Linked DNA regions of Homo sapiens: region 1 is linked to region 2. Evidence: promoter capture Hi-C in human tissues and cell types (Jung and others, 2019). All regions are on one chromosome and are shown on one strand. Each heading gives the region's core, a stretch centred on a gene start or on the middle of the fragment in contact. The rest is flanking DNA. Distances are from core to core; before and after follow the strand shown.

Region 1 (6,263 bases), core at 2,097-4,596, 100 kb before region 2:
CTCTGGCCCCACCCAAGCTCCCCACCACCCCCATGTGTCTGGAGCCACCAGACTGGTTTCTGGGCACAGGCCTCTTGCCATCACCCAACCCCGTGGATCGCCCTCTGTGGCTGGGTGCTGGGAGCCTCCCAGGGCTCATGCCTGATGCGGGGGAACCATGCAGGCTGCCAGGTAGCCTGGCCAGTGTGCGGCAGGGGTGTCAGGGAAGGCGTCCCAGGGGAGAGGCAATGTCCGGGAGACCCTCTGAATGGCAACAAACACCTGGATTTCCTTCAATGACCAGGATTCCCCTGCTAGGGTTGTCGGGAGAGGGTGGAATGAGGGTGGAGTCCGGCCAAGGAAGGGCCGGGACAGGACTGCGGACAGGAGCTGAGGAGGGCAGGAACCAGTGGCCCTGGGGGCTCCTGCCCTGTGTCCCGCAGGGAAGCAGACCCCACTTCTATCCACTCTGGCTCTTCCACTGTCCTACCCTGGTCTCAGCCCTCCAAAACCAAGACCCTCCACAACCCAGGCTTGGCCAAAGCACTTTCCTGGCCCCAGAGCACAGCCTCTGGAGCACCGGGAGCAGCCGCTCTGACCTCTGACTCCCCGCACCAGAGCAGACGGCAAAGGGGAGTGCTATGGCCTGTGGTCAAGGTCAAGCCCTGACAAGCCATCAGGAGCCAGAAGCCCAGGCCTCGGTGCTCTGGGCACCACCAGGCCAACCCTGTGCTCCCTGGGGCCAGCACACGGGTCAGGGAACACTTCTGAAGTCCTTTATTGGGCCGGCAAGGCCGGGAGCTGCCCTCGGAGTGGGGTCCCAGTCCGGAGTCTTCAGGTCAGTGGCAGCCCTGCCCGTTCTGGCCGGGGCAGGCGGCCCCTGCTGACTCGCTACTTGGTGCGCGCCTTCACATACTCCCAGCCCTCCTTGGAGTACTCGCGGGCCTTGGAGGGGGCCACCGACAGAGCTGACATCACCGTCATGATGCCTGTGGGAAAGGGACGGCCACTGGTGATACTCCCCTCCCAGCCTCACCCAGCCTCCAACCCCTGGGAAACTCTAGAGTTTGTTTTGGGCGGTGGGGGGTGGGTGGGGGGCGGGGATGGAGTCTCACTCTGTCTCCCAGGCTGGAGTGCAGTAGTGCAATCTCGGCTCACTGCAACCTTCGCCTCCTGGGTTCAAGCGATTCTCTTGCCTCAGCCTCCCAAGTAGCTGGGACTACAAGTGCGCCACCATACCAGGCTAATTTTTGTATTTTATTTTTTTGAGATGGAGTCTCGCCCTGTCGCCCAGGCTGGAGTGCAGTGGTGCAACCTCGGCTCACTGCAACCTCTGCCTCCTGGGTTCAAGCAATTCTCCTGCTTCAGCCTCTCAAGCAGCAGCTGGGATTACAGGTGTGCACCACCACGCACGGTTAATTTTTGTATTTTTAGTAGAGATGGGGTTTCACCATGTTGCCCAGGCTGGTCTCGAACTCCTGACTTCAGATGATCCGCCCACCTCAGCCTCCCAAAGTGCTGGGATTACAGGCGTGAGCCACTGTGCTCGGCCTCCTTTCCCTTTTAGATCCCTAAGAGACACGTGTCGGGCAGGAAGGAGGATGGACAGAAAGGAATGGCCAGGAAGTGGGGAGAGGGGCTAGACTGGGGTGTCTCCCTCCAAGCAAAGAAACTGGGTGCCTTACCTGCATTCCAGGAGTCACGGATGGGAAAGTAAATCTTTGGAGGGGCTGGGAGCTGGGAAAAAGAGATGGGCAGAAAGAACTGGTGAAAAGGCTCAGCAGCCCATCCCCAGAGGCGGAGGGAGGAGGACAGGCCGGAGAATCAGGTCAGCATCAATATGGAGGACAACATCGTGCAGGGCTGGAGGGACCTCCCAGAGCTGACCACCCGCCAAACCCTGGCCTCGTTCCCGGCCCGTAGTACCTGGGGTATCTGCAGGCCTGTCTGCTGACACACGTACTGGCTGAACTGGTACATGGCGGGGGGGACCACCTCCCCAGCCTTCTGTAGGGCTGCCTGGCTCTTGTCGCTGGGCCCCAGCAGCTCCTGGTCGTACACCAGGTAGACGGCGCCCCCAGCCACACTTCCCTTGATGAGGAACCTGCGGGCAGGGACGGGAGGAGCAGAAGCTCAGCGGACACTGACAGCCACCCTCAGGGGCCAAGGCCCACGGGGAGAGTGAGACCCTCCTGAGGGCTCACCGTCCACAGGGTGACACTCTGTAGTGCAGCACCGTCGACCCAGACCCCTATTATATACAGCACTCGTTTTACAACGTGCAAGGCAGGGCGGCTGGACGCCACTTGAACTGATGAACTGAAACCCAGAGGGGGAGAGTGGGTCACTCAAAGTCCCACAGTGAGCAGGGGCAGTGAAGACGTAAGATCTTGACCTTCTAGAAGCCTTCCAGCCCTGGAGAAACCAAGTGTCCCTGGGCGCCTCCTGCCCGCTGTCACTCGCAGCTCCGAGCACGCATTCACTTCTCATCCACGCCAGCGGCAGGATTCACCGGCATTCCCACCTCACAGAGAAGACAACTGAGGCTCGGAGGCGGAGGCTGACACCGCGAACTGAACGCCAAGGGCTCGCTGGGAAGCAGGAGGGAGGGGATTGGCGACCTCGGGAAGCCCCGCCCCTCTGAAGCCTCAGTTTCCCTATCTGGCCCATAGGCGGGGAACGAAGGGGAAGTGACTCTAAGGGAAGCGAAGAGCAGATCGGGACCAGACTGGAGACAGGGATGCCCACAAAAATGGACTTTTTCGGGGACTCGGGTCCCCTCCGGCGCCCCCACGCACCTCATCAGCGACCACACCCGGGCCACCATGGTCGCTCGGATCCACGCGCAAGGACACTCGGCTCGCCCGCCGCTTCCTGTCGCGGCGCCGCAGAGGCCTCTGGAAGGTGTAGTCTTTCTTGCCCGACGCAAGGTCCTCTGGGAGTCGTGGTGTCTTGCGGCTCTGAGACTCCAGAGAAGGGCTGCGGTCTCGCAGCGGAGGGCCGCTGGGAAATGGACGCTTTAAGGCCCGGGCCGCCGCAAGGCTGTCTGGGAAATGTAGTCAGCACGGCGCTGTTTGCACCTGGCCGCGGAGCCTCCTGGGAAATGTAGTTCGGCCCGGCCCTGGCACCGTGAGGGGAAAGAGGCGTCAGGTGCCTGGCTGAAGCCTGAAGGTGACCCGAAAACAAGTCAGAGCCCGAGAGATCCACCCGCGCCCGCGCGGGGGACCAAGGGCCCGGATTTAAGAAGAGTGTGCCTACAAGGCGGTTGTCACGGCAACGAGAGGGCGGGATTGTTCGAGCGCTGCGGCCCCCTCACGTGATCGATTCGGAGGCGGGGCGTCCGCCCAGTGGGCGGGGCCGGGCCCCTGCTGGGAGGCGAAGACCAGGCGGGCACTGTTGCCCGGCGACGCTCCGGCGCTGGGTCCCCGAGGCCCGGCCCCTCCCCGGGAGGAGGTGGGCTTCGAGTCACGTGACCCGTGCCCTACGGGAGGGGGTGCGGTCGGGGACCCGGCAGGAGGCGGCCGAGAAGAGAGGACCGTGGGGGCGTTCGCGTGGCTCCCAGCCCGGGACCCCACCCCCGCTGGACAGTGGGGGAAACTGAGGCCTGAGCGGGTGAGTGCACGGTTTAGGGGTGCGCAGAGGGTCACACGCCCGCTTTGTTCAGAGGGGAAGCTAAGGCCCGCCGAGGTCAAGAAGGGGCCGATGCGTTCTGCAGGGCTTCCCCCCATTTCTCCCGCATTTCGGCCGGGCTGCTTCAACCGTTCATCTGCCCATCCATCCATCTGTCCCCCACCCGTCTATCCATCTGGCCATCCACCCATCTATCCTTCCATCTATCCATCCACACTTCCGTTCATCCATCTGTCCGCCCATCCATTCATCCATCTGCTCCCCCCATCCTTCCACTCATCCATCTGTCCACCCATCCATCTATTTATCTGGCCACCCACTCATCTATCCGTCCATCCATCCATCCATCCATCCATCCATCCATGCATCCGTCCGTCCATCCATCCATCCATCCATCCATCCATTTATGTGTTCCCATTTATCCATTCATACATCCATCCACTCATCCATCTATCCACCCATACATCTCTCCGTCCATCATCCATCCATCCACCCATCCATCTATTCATCTGGCCATCCACCCATCCATCCTTCTATCTATGCATCCATACATGCATCTGTCCATCTATCCATTCATCCATCCACCCATCCGTCCACCCGTCAGTCCATCTGGTCCCACTTCCCCCTGCCGGGCTGCTGCAGTCAGTGTAGAGCTGGGGGTGGAAAGAGGGATGAGCAGAGGAGCTTCATGGGCTGTCCCTGGAAGGGGAAAAGGTGGAAGCTCGTTTCTTGCTGTGGGCATGCCTGGTGTGTCTGGGAAAGGTGAGGAGTTCATTATTTTGAGAACTGAACGATTCATAGATGGGGCCGTGGGAGAGAAGGATAGACAGGTAGTCAGGGGCTATACCTGCAGGGCCTCATGGGGTGCAGTGAGGAGCCTGGTTTCCATCAGTTGCAGTGGGGACCCCTGAGAGGGTTTGGAGCAGGAAGGGCCATGGCCATGTTGCTTTTGACACAGACGCCTTTGGCTGCATTGACAGAAGAGGCAGGGAGAGAATGAGTATGGACATGGGGAAGCCAGTGTGGAGGTGGGGGAGACCAAATCGGAGATGGAAGGGAGGCCAAAGGAAAGATGGGGGTGGTCAGGCCCGGGGTAGGGTCTAGGAGGGAGGTGACAATCTGGGAGTCCTGGAGAGAGAGAGGAAGGGACAGCTGGGGAGAGACTGGAGAGGGAGAACTGATAAGATCTGAAAACCATGAGCTCGTGGGGGTGAAAGGATAGAAGGAGGTGAGGACAATACCTGGGTCTCCCATTTAGGGACAGGGGATAGTGGGGCTATTTCTGTGATGGTGAGCTGGGAAGAGAAGCAGGTATGGGGTGACATGCTGAGCCTGGATTGGGTCCTGCTGGTTCTAAGGGGCCTGGAGGTTGTCAGGAGGAGACACCCAGAAGACAGCAGAGGCAAAGAACCTAGGGCTGGACCTACAGATGGGAGATTTAGGGACTCCTCAATGATCCGCTCCATCTGGTCTGTCTCAGCTTCCTGGTTCTGGAAGTCCCCTTCCCCTTGTCCCATTGACTTTTTTTTTTTTTTTTTTTTTTTTTTAGACAGAGTCTCACTCTGTTGCCCAGGCTGGAATGCAGTGGGGCGATCTCAGCTCACTGCAATCTCCACCCCGCTGGGTTCAAGCAATTCTCCTGCCTCAGCAGGAGACCCCATCTCTACAAAAAATACGATGATTAGTTGGGCGTGCTGGTGCACCCACTTGTAGTCCTAGCTGCTCCATTGGCTGGGATCACAGGCATGTGCCAGCATGCCCAGCTAATTTAGTATTTTTAGTAGAGACTGGGTTTCTCCATGTTGGTCAGGCTGGTCTCGAACTCCCAGCCTCAAGTGATCCGCCCACCTCGGCCTCCCAAAATGCTGGGATTACAAAGTGTAATCCCAGCCTGTGCAACAAGAGTGAAACTCAGTCTCAAAAAAAAAAAAAAAAAAAAAGAACCTGGACTGTTTCTCTCTTTCACCTTCTCCCTGGAATTAGTGAATCAGCTCCCATAGCTGAAATCATAAATCATATCTTCATCTGGATGACGCAGGCACCTCTGTCTCCAACCCAGCCCCATGTGTCAAATGCCTTCTGGGTGTCTCCAGAGAGCGAGCTGTCTCTTGGCTTCCTCACCTCTCGCCTCCCACGTGCCTCATATCACTCCATGATCAATCTGGTACCTATTGAGCACCTACTGTGTACCTGGCACAGTTTTGGGCCCTGAAGACCCAATAGGGAACAAAGTAGAAGATTTCCATTTCCTTCCTGCCCTTATGGAGCTGATGGTCTACAGGGAGAGAAGGATGGTGGAACGAGTAACAAATGGTCCTTGGGCTGGGCACGGTGGTTCACACCTGTAATCCCAGCACTTTGGGAGGCTGAGGCGGGAGGATCACTTGAGCCCAGGAGTTCAAAATCAGCCTGGGCAGCATAGTGAGACCCCATCCCTACAAAAAATACGATGATTAGTTGGGTGTGCTGGTGCGCCCACCTGTAGTCCCAGCTGCTCCATTGGCTGAGGCAAGAGGATTGCTTGAGCCCAAGAGGTCCAGGCTGCAGTGAGCTATGGTCGCACCACTGCACTCCAGCCTGAGCAACAGAGTGAGACTCTGCCTCAAAAATAAAAAAAAATAAAAATAAAAAAATAAATAATAAAAAAAGGAGGC
Region 2 (6,610 bases), core at 3,156-5,655:
CAAGACCCCCCATCTCTACAAAAAAATTTTTTTAGACATTAGCTGAGTGTGGTGGTGCATGCCTGTAGTTCCAGCTACTTGGGAGGCTGAGGTGGGAGGATCGCTTGAGCCCAGGAGGTCGAGGCTGCAGTAAGCCATGATCACGGCGCTATACTCCAGCCTGGGCAACGTAGCGAGACCCTGTCTCAGAAAGAAAAAAAAAAGCTACTGCTTGGGTCCTTGCAGACATCCACTGTGTGACCCTCACTCCACATTAATCTTCAAGAAAAGTGATCCAGGTCCTTGCCCCACTTCCTCATCAGCCAGGACCTCCCCGACACTTGGGATACCTGGTTTTAGTTTCAGAGATACCCCTAATGAGGCTTCGGGGAGAAGGAGTTGAAAAGCAGCTGAGAAAAGTGGGCTTGGGGCTGGGCGCGGTGGCTCACGCCTGTCATCCCAGCACTTTGGTAGGCTGAGGCGGGCGGATCCCCTGAGGTTAGGAGATCGAGACCAGCCTGACCAACATGGTGAAATCCCGTCTCTACTAAAAATACAATTAACCAGGTGTGGTGGTGCACACCTGTAATCCCAGCTACTCGGGAGGCTGAGGCAGGCAGGAGAGTCACTTGAACTCGGGAGGCGGAGGTTGCAGTGAGCCGAGATCACGCCATTGCACTCCAGCTTGGGCAACAAGAGCGAAACTCTGCCTCAAAAAAACAAAAGTGCACTTGGAGTCTCTCCCAGCCTGTGTCCCCACGGGTCAAACAGTGATGAATGGGGATCACTGCAGATGCCAGGAGGGCACATGGCACAGTCCCTGGGACAGGGGGACCCTGTCTTGAGGGCCACAGCTGCATGGCCCCGAGACACTACCCGGAGTTGTTTTTGTTTTTTGAAATGGAGTCTTGCTCTATTGCCCAGGGTGGAGTGCAGTGATGTGATCTCGGCTCACTACAACCTCTGCCTCCCGGGCTCAAGCAATTCTTGTGCCTTAGTCTCCTGAGTAGCTGGGATTACAGGCGCCTGCCACCATACCCAGATAATTTTTGCATTTTCTTTTTTTTTTTGAGACGGAGTCTCACTCTGTCGCCCAGGCTGGAGTGCAGTGGTGCAATCTTGGCTCACTGCAAGCTCCGCCTCCTGGGTTCACGCCATTCTCCTGCCTCAGCCTCCCGAGTAGCTGGGACTACAGGCACCCGCCACCACACCCAGCTAATTTTTTTGTATTTTTAGTAGAGCTGGGGTTTCATCGTGTTTGCCAGGATGGTCTCAATCTCCTGATCTCGTGATCTGCCTGCCTTGGCCTCCCGAAGTACTGGGATTACAGGCGTGAGAAGCTGCGCCCGGCCAATTTTTGTATTTTCAGTAGAGACAGGGTTTCACCATTTTGGCCAAGCTGGTCTCGAACTCCTGACCTCAAGTGATCTGCCCGCCTCGGCCTCCCAAAGTGCTGAGATTACAGGTGTTTGCCACTGCACCTGGCCTCCTCCTGAGTTTTTTGAATAAGGGTTTCCGGGAGAGTAGCTCCAGAGAGCAGCAGGCACAGTGCCCTACACAGAGCCGGGACCATGGTCTCTGCTCGGCCTCCAAACACCCATCAGCCTCCTGGACTCTAGGTGAGCCTCCCAGGGCCTCCCCAAGCAGAGGCCTTGAAACCCAAACTCCGGAGACCCAGGAGATCCAGCCCGCAGCCTGGGGAAGGGGTAGGCTGAAGGTTCCCATCCCAGAGGGGTGTCCTCATCCCAGGAGGCGCTGGATGGCACTCGACCTCCTGTTTCCTTATGTGTCCCTGGGGGAATGGGGTCAGCCTCTCCAGGGCCACCATGAGCGTTTCAGGGGAGGAGGGTACAGGTGGCCACTGCCTGGACCCCCAGGAGGGCTCTCGAGACCCTGATGTGGGTAAGCAGTGACGGGAACCAGCACCCGGAGGTCGTTCTTCCGAGGCTGGGCCCATCCCATTTTGGAACGAGTAGCCAGGCTGTCCCTGCCACCCCGGACCCCGAAGTGTGGCCGGGTGGGGCCCCTGACCCTCTCCTGGGCTCCAGGTGCTGTCTCCTGTCTCCATCTTGGGTGCACATGCCAGGCCCCCTGGGTGCCGTGTGCTCCCCACCCCTTCACGCGTGGGCACTGTCTCATCCCTGCCCCAGCCCCCACCCTCAGACCATCAGGTGAAGCCCCTGCACCCACCTGTCTGTCTGAACAAGAGCGTGGCCCTTCCCGCCCTGCCTGCAGTGGCTGTGGCTTCCTGGGGACAGGAGGCAGCTGGGTGGGGATCTGGAGGATGCTCCTCAAGCCCTGCCCTGATGGCTGTGTGTCTCCAAGGAAGTTCCTGCTGCTCTGGGCAGCCTTGCTTTCCCCCACCAAACAAAGGGGTGAAAACCCTTAGAACGCGTTGAGTCTGGGGGTCAGCTCCCTCGTGCCCCAGGAGGCCCCTGCCTCTGCCAGAGGAGTCTGATGTTCCAGGGCTGGGACTCAAGGAGTTTAGGGTGTCCTGTGATTCCGGGGCTCCCCTGCTAAGAGGCCTCACTGTGAGGCCGGGGGCGCTGCCTTGCCAGTCCGCGGGATGATGGGGTGAGGGGCCAGGCGTGCATCTCCAGCCCCCTCCCCATCCCCAAGGCCCCCACGTGGACATGGAGCTGAAAGGTCAAATGTGCTTTAATGCGGGGTGGCTCCCAGGTCCTCCCTGGGCCCCGGGGGAGTGGCGCTGGCTGGGCCTGCCGGCTGCCTGGCCTTCCTTCCCGGCTTTCCCTTCTTGGCCGTCGAGGCCTTTCTCTTGCCAGACAGAATGGGGGCCGGGGTGTTGGTGGCAGGGGGCCCCGGGTGGGGCGGCTGCTCCTCGTCGAGCGCCTTGAAGTTGAAGAAGTAGTCAACGTTGGACACGGTGTCCAGGATCTCAGGCACGCTGTAGTCAAAGGACAGCAGCTCCTCGGGCAGGCACAGCGAGCGGATGTCATCGGCTGAGTTCCCACCACTGCTGTCAGGCAGGGCCGGCCCAGGGACCTCGCACAGGGTACCCTCAGGCTCAGAGGCGCCTGGCAGGCAGTCGAAGAGCTTCATGGCGTCCTCCAGCAGAACCTTGTCAGGCAGTGCCAAAGCTCTGGCCGTCTTGGGGGCCTTGGCCTTGCCTGCTCCCAGCAGGGCCCCCTCCTTGACCTCGGCCACCTTGAGCTCGCTGAGGCCCGGTGGGTACAGGGGCACCCCAGGTCGGGCCCCACTGCCCTGCAGCTCCTTGACGGGGAAGGCCAGGGGTTCGGGCCCAGGGAAGTGGCCGAGGTGACCCTGGAGGTGGCTGTAGGCGTCTGGGGGCAGTGTGGGCTCTGCAGGCAGCGTGATGAGTACAGGGGGCGGCTTGTTCTCCTTGGGGGGTGGGGGTGGCAGCGGGGCCGGGCCTTCCTCTAGGGGCGGTAGGGGCAGCTCCACGAAGGCGGCGGGCCCTGCGTCCCCCACAAAACCCAGAGCCTCTGGCCCGGGGCCCTCAGGCGGGAAGTAGGGCAAGAGAAACTGGGGCCCCCCGGGTGCCTGCTGGTAGTGGGGGTATGGAGGCAGCCCCGGGGCCTTGAGGTAGGGCTGAGGCTCCAGGAGGTAGCTGCCTGGGGCGGAGGGGACCCCCGCTGGCCCCCCGCTGCTTGCTGCCAGCTTATACAGGGCTGACTGGCCCAGGTCGGGGGTGGTCCACTCGATCCGATAGATGCGGGGGTCGAAGAAGCACCCGCATGGGGCCATCTGGAAACCTGTGGGCGGCAGGCGGGTGCCCTGAGAGCAGCTGCTGCCTGAGGGGCCCAGCCCAAGCCTGGGGGCCTGTTTGGGAGATGCCACAAGAACCTTGCCATTGGGGGGCCCCTTTGGGGGACGACATAGATATTGCTTTGGGGCCCTGGCTGGGTGATGGATGACACAGAGCTTGTCTTTGGGGCTCATCTGGGGGACCTGTGTGAAGCATGGGGAGCAGAGGCCATGCCTTCAGGCTCCCACTTAGGGACGGGGCAGGGGCAAGATGGGCCTGCACACTCAAACCCACTCCCAGCCTCGTCAAGGGCTCAGGGGAGGCCGGTACCTGCTGGTGGGGCTGGAAACACCTCTTTCTCTGGGTCTGGGGGATGATACAGGTTCAAGGAGCCTGTGGACAAAGGTGCCCAGGTGGGTAGGGCCCTTAGGCGGGTGGGCCCCTGAACCCTCTCCAGCAGGTGCTCCCACCCACCCGATCGTACCCATAGCGGGAGGAGGCTCGGCACAGGTGGGAGCAGGCTGGTTGCCCAGCACCTCAGCCCCCTCCAGACTCTGCGGGCTGAAACCTTCCTGGGGAGCTGCAGGGGCACAGAACGGTTTGGGGTGCTGCATGGGGCAGCGGGGGGCCCGGTCCAGACAGGCCAGGAGGGCGGCAGTGGGAGTGCAAGTGGCCCAACCGGAGAACAGGCTGAGAACCTGGTGGGGTTCTGTTTGCCTGGTTACTCGGGGCAGCGGGTTCCAGCCTGCAGCGCGCCCACTGGTTGGGGTTCTGGGTGTTGGGGGCAAGCAGGGGCAGACGTTGGCAGACATGGTCATCACCATGGGAGGGAGGATTCTGGGCCAGGCCTTTGCCTCTTCCAGCAACACCCCCCTAACAGCTTTGAGGCCGCCTCCTCCAGGCAGGCTGCCCTGATCCACACCCACACAGGCTGAGGCCCCCCGGGTCCTCAACCCGCTACCTTCTTGGGGGTCAAGGCCTCTCTGGGCACCAGCAGCACCCAGCTTGGGGCAGGGCCCATGGAGGCAGCTAAGAGGTTTGGGGAAGGTGGGGGCCGAGGAGGGGCTGCTTCAGGGTCACAGAAAGGCCTGGATTTTAAAAGAATAAAATTTATTGTACTCTCCTCGCCCCAGGGTGCCCCTGGGAAAGCCTGAGGCTACTTGTACGCGTTGGCCTTGTGCTTCGGCAAGAAGGCGAAGCTGGGGGGCACTGGCCCAAGGAGCATCTCGCTGTGGGAGAGCAGGTGGAAAGCGAGGTCAGGCCCAGGACCTGCAAAGTACCCTCCGTGACCCCGGGCCCCCGACTGCAGCTCCCCAACTCCAGCCCACCCAGGCACCTGATGCGGATCCAGTCGGCTGCCTTCTGGCTGGCCATCAGCGTCTCCAGGTAGTCGCGGCCCAGGTAGTAGGGCGGCCGCTCGTTGATCCTCTGTGGGAGCCGCTCCAGCAGCCCCACGGGCACGTACCTGCGGCGGGTGGGCGGGCAGGACAGGCTTGAGTCAGCTCTAACCAGCCGCGGCCCACGCGCCGCCCACCCCAGCCAGCCCCGGTGCCCACCGGCACAGGAAGGACAGCCACTCGAGCAGAAAGCGCCGGGTCTTCTCCACGCCCTGCGTGTCCGAGCCCCAGTGCTCCAGGCCGTAGTTGGTGAAGTCCCGCAGGATGTCCAGGCGCTCGGACGACGAGATGTCCCAGTGCCGCTGCTCCTTGATCTCCGTGAAGAGCCACGGCTTGAGCAGGGCGCCACTGTGGGACGGGTGACGATCAGTGGGCCCAGCCACCAGCCTGCCTGGGATCGTGTGGCCTCTGCTTCCATGGCCTGGCCTGAGCCGGAGCCCAGACCACAAAACCTACAAGCCTAGTAAGCCTCCCAGCTGCATGCACACAACCTTCAAAGCACAGGACTTTCTTTTGTTTTTTCTGAGACGGAGTCTGGCTCTGTCGCCCAGGCTGGGGTGCAGTGGTAAGATCTCGGCTCACTGTTCAACCTCCGTCTCCCAGGTTCAGGCAATTGTCCTGCCTCAGCCTCCCTAGTAGTTGGGATTACAGGCGTGTACCACTACACCTGGCTAATTTTTGTATTTTTAATAGAGATGTTTCACCATGTTGGTCAGGCTAGTCTTGAACCTCCGACCTCAAATGATCGGCGTGCCTTGGCCTCCCAAAGTGCTGGGATTACAGGCGTGAGCCACACACCTGGCCAAAGCCCAGGACTTTCAACCCACAATCATCAGATCCCACAGCAGCAGCAATTTCCAGTCCCCTCTGCCGCAACGCAGCTGCAACTCCTGACATCGCTCTCTGCTCCTCCCATCTTGGGACCAACAGCCCACCACAGAACAGGGGTGGGTGACGGCGTGTTGGGTTCAGGGCACTGCTGCTGTGCATGAAGCTGGATCTCTAACATCCCTGGGCACTTACCGGGCAATCATGATCCCGGTGACACCAGTCTGCATGGCGCGGTTGGCATCCTCAAATGACAAGATGTCCCCATTTCCTGAGGAGACAGAGGCTGGGGTCTCAGGGAGACATGGGCAGGTGGGACCCTGGAGTTCTGCTCACCAGCCCTTCAGGAGTTTTGGCTGACCCAGTGGCTCCCATCAGGGTGGTACGAGGGGGTCCCAAGTGGGAAGGCGAACAGCCCAGAGGTGTGAGTGACCAAGGGTGGTAGGGGAGAGGGAGGTGGCTTCCCGGAACACCCACCGAACAGGGGCATGGGGCTGGCGGCCTGCACGCACTCCTCGATGTACTGCCAGTCGGCTAGCTTGGTGTAGCGCTGCTCCCGAGAGCGGCCGTGGAGCTGGGGGAGAAGCCGCCACGCAGGGTAGGAGGCAGAGAGTGAGACGCAGAGAGGAAGAGACCAAGAGAGCCAGGCTGAGAGAGACAGAGAGAGACACAGGCGGAG

The links. The method cuts DNA at HindIII sites, captures the fragments that hold promoters and counts their contacts. A contact is called where the count stands out against the background at its distance.
Region 1: the fragment with the promoter of HSD11B1L here is called in contact with the fragment with the promoter of PRR22 in region 2 in 1 of the 25 tissues and cell types used here (adrenal gland).

Annotation. Positions count from the first base shown.
Region 1 is chr19:5,677,681-5,683,943 of GRCh38, forward strand. It overlaps HSD11B1L (hydroxysteroid 11-beta dehydrogenase 1 like), which reads left to right and starts at 3,347. Exons shown (of 8, transcript NM_198706.3): 1 at 3,347-3,591. MICOS13 (mitochondrial contact site and cristae organizing system subunit 13) reads right to left here and starts at 2,836. Exons shown (of 4, transcript NM_205767.3): 1 at 2,778-2,836; 2 at 1,906-2,083; 3 at 1,665-1,716; 4 at 742-968. The coding sequence starts at 2,806. The coding sequence ends at 871. It overlaps LOC107985320 (a long non-coding RNA gene), which reads left to right. Exons shown (of 3, transcript XR_007067107.1): 3 at 1-649. RefSeq lists enhancers at 1,925-2,064, 2,445-2,554, 2,585-2,664, 2,685-2,784, 2,795-3,264 and a silencer at 3,315-3,524. The HindIII fragment of the contact is 40,206 bases long and covers 1-6,263 here.
Region 2 is chr19:5,780,341-5,786,950 of GRCh38, forward strand. PRR22 (proline rich 22) reads right to left here and starts at 4,406. Exons shown (of 3, transcript NM_001134316.2): 1 at 4,191-4,406; 2 at 4,037-4,099; 3 at 2,620-3,713. The coding sequence starts at 4,320. The coding sequence ends at 2,638. It overlaps DUS3L (dihydrouridine synthase 3 like), which reads right to left. Exons shown (of 13, transcript NM_020175.3): 9 at 6,409-6,505; 10 at 6,127-6,202; 11 at 5,263-5,451; 12 at 5,043-5,171; 13 at 4,800-4,935. The coding sequence ends at 4,863. RefSeq lists a silencer at 392-570. The HindIII fragment of the contact is 36,623 bases long and covers 1-6,610 here.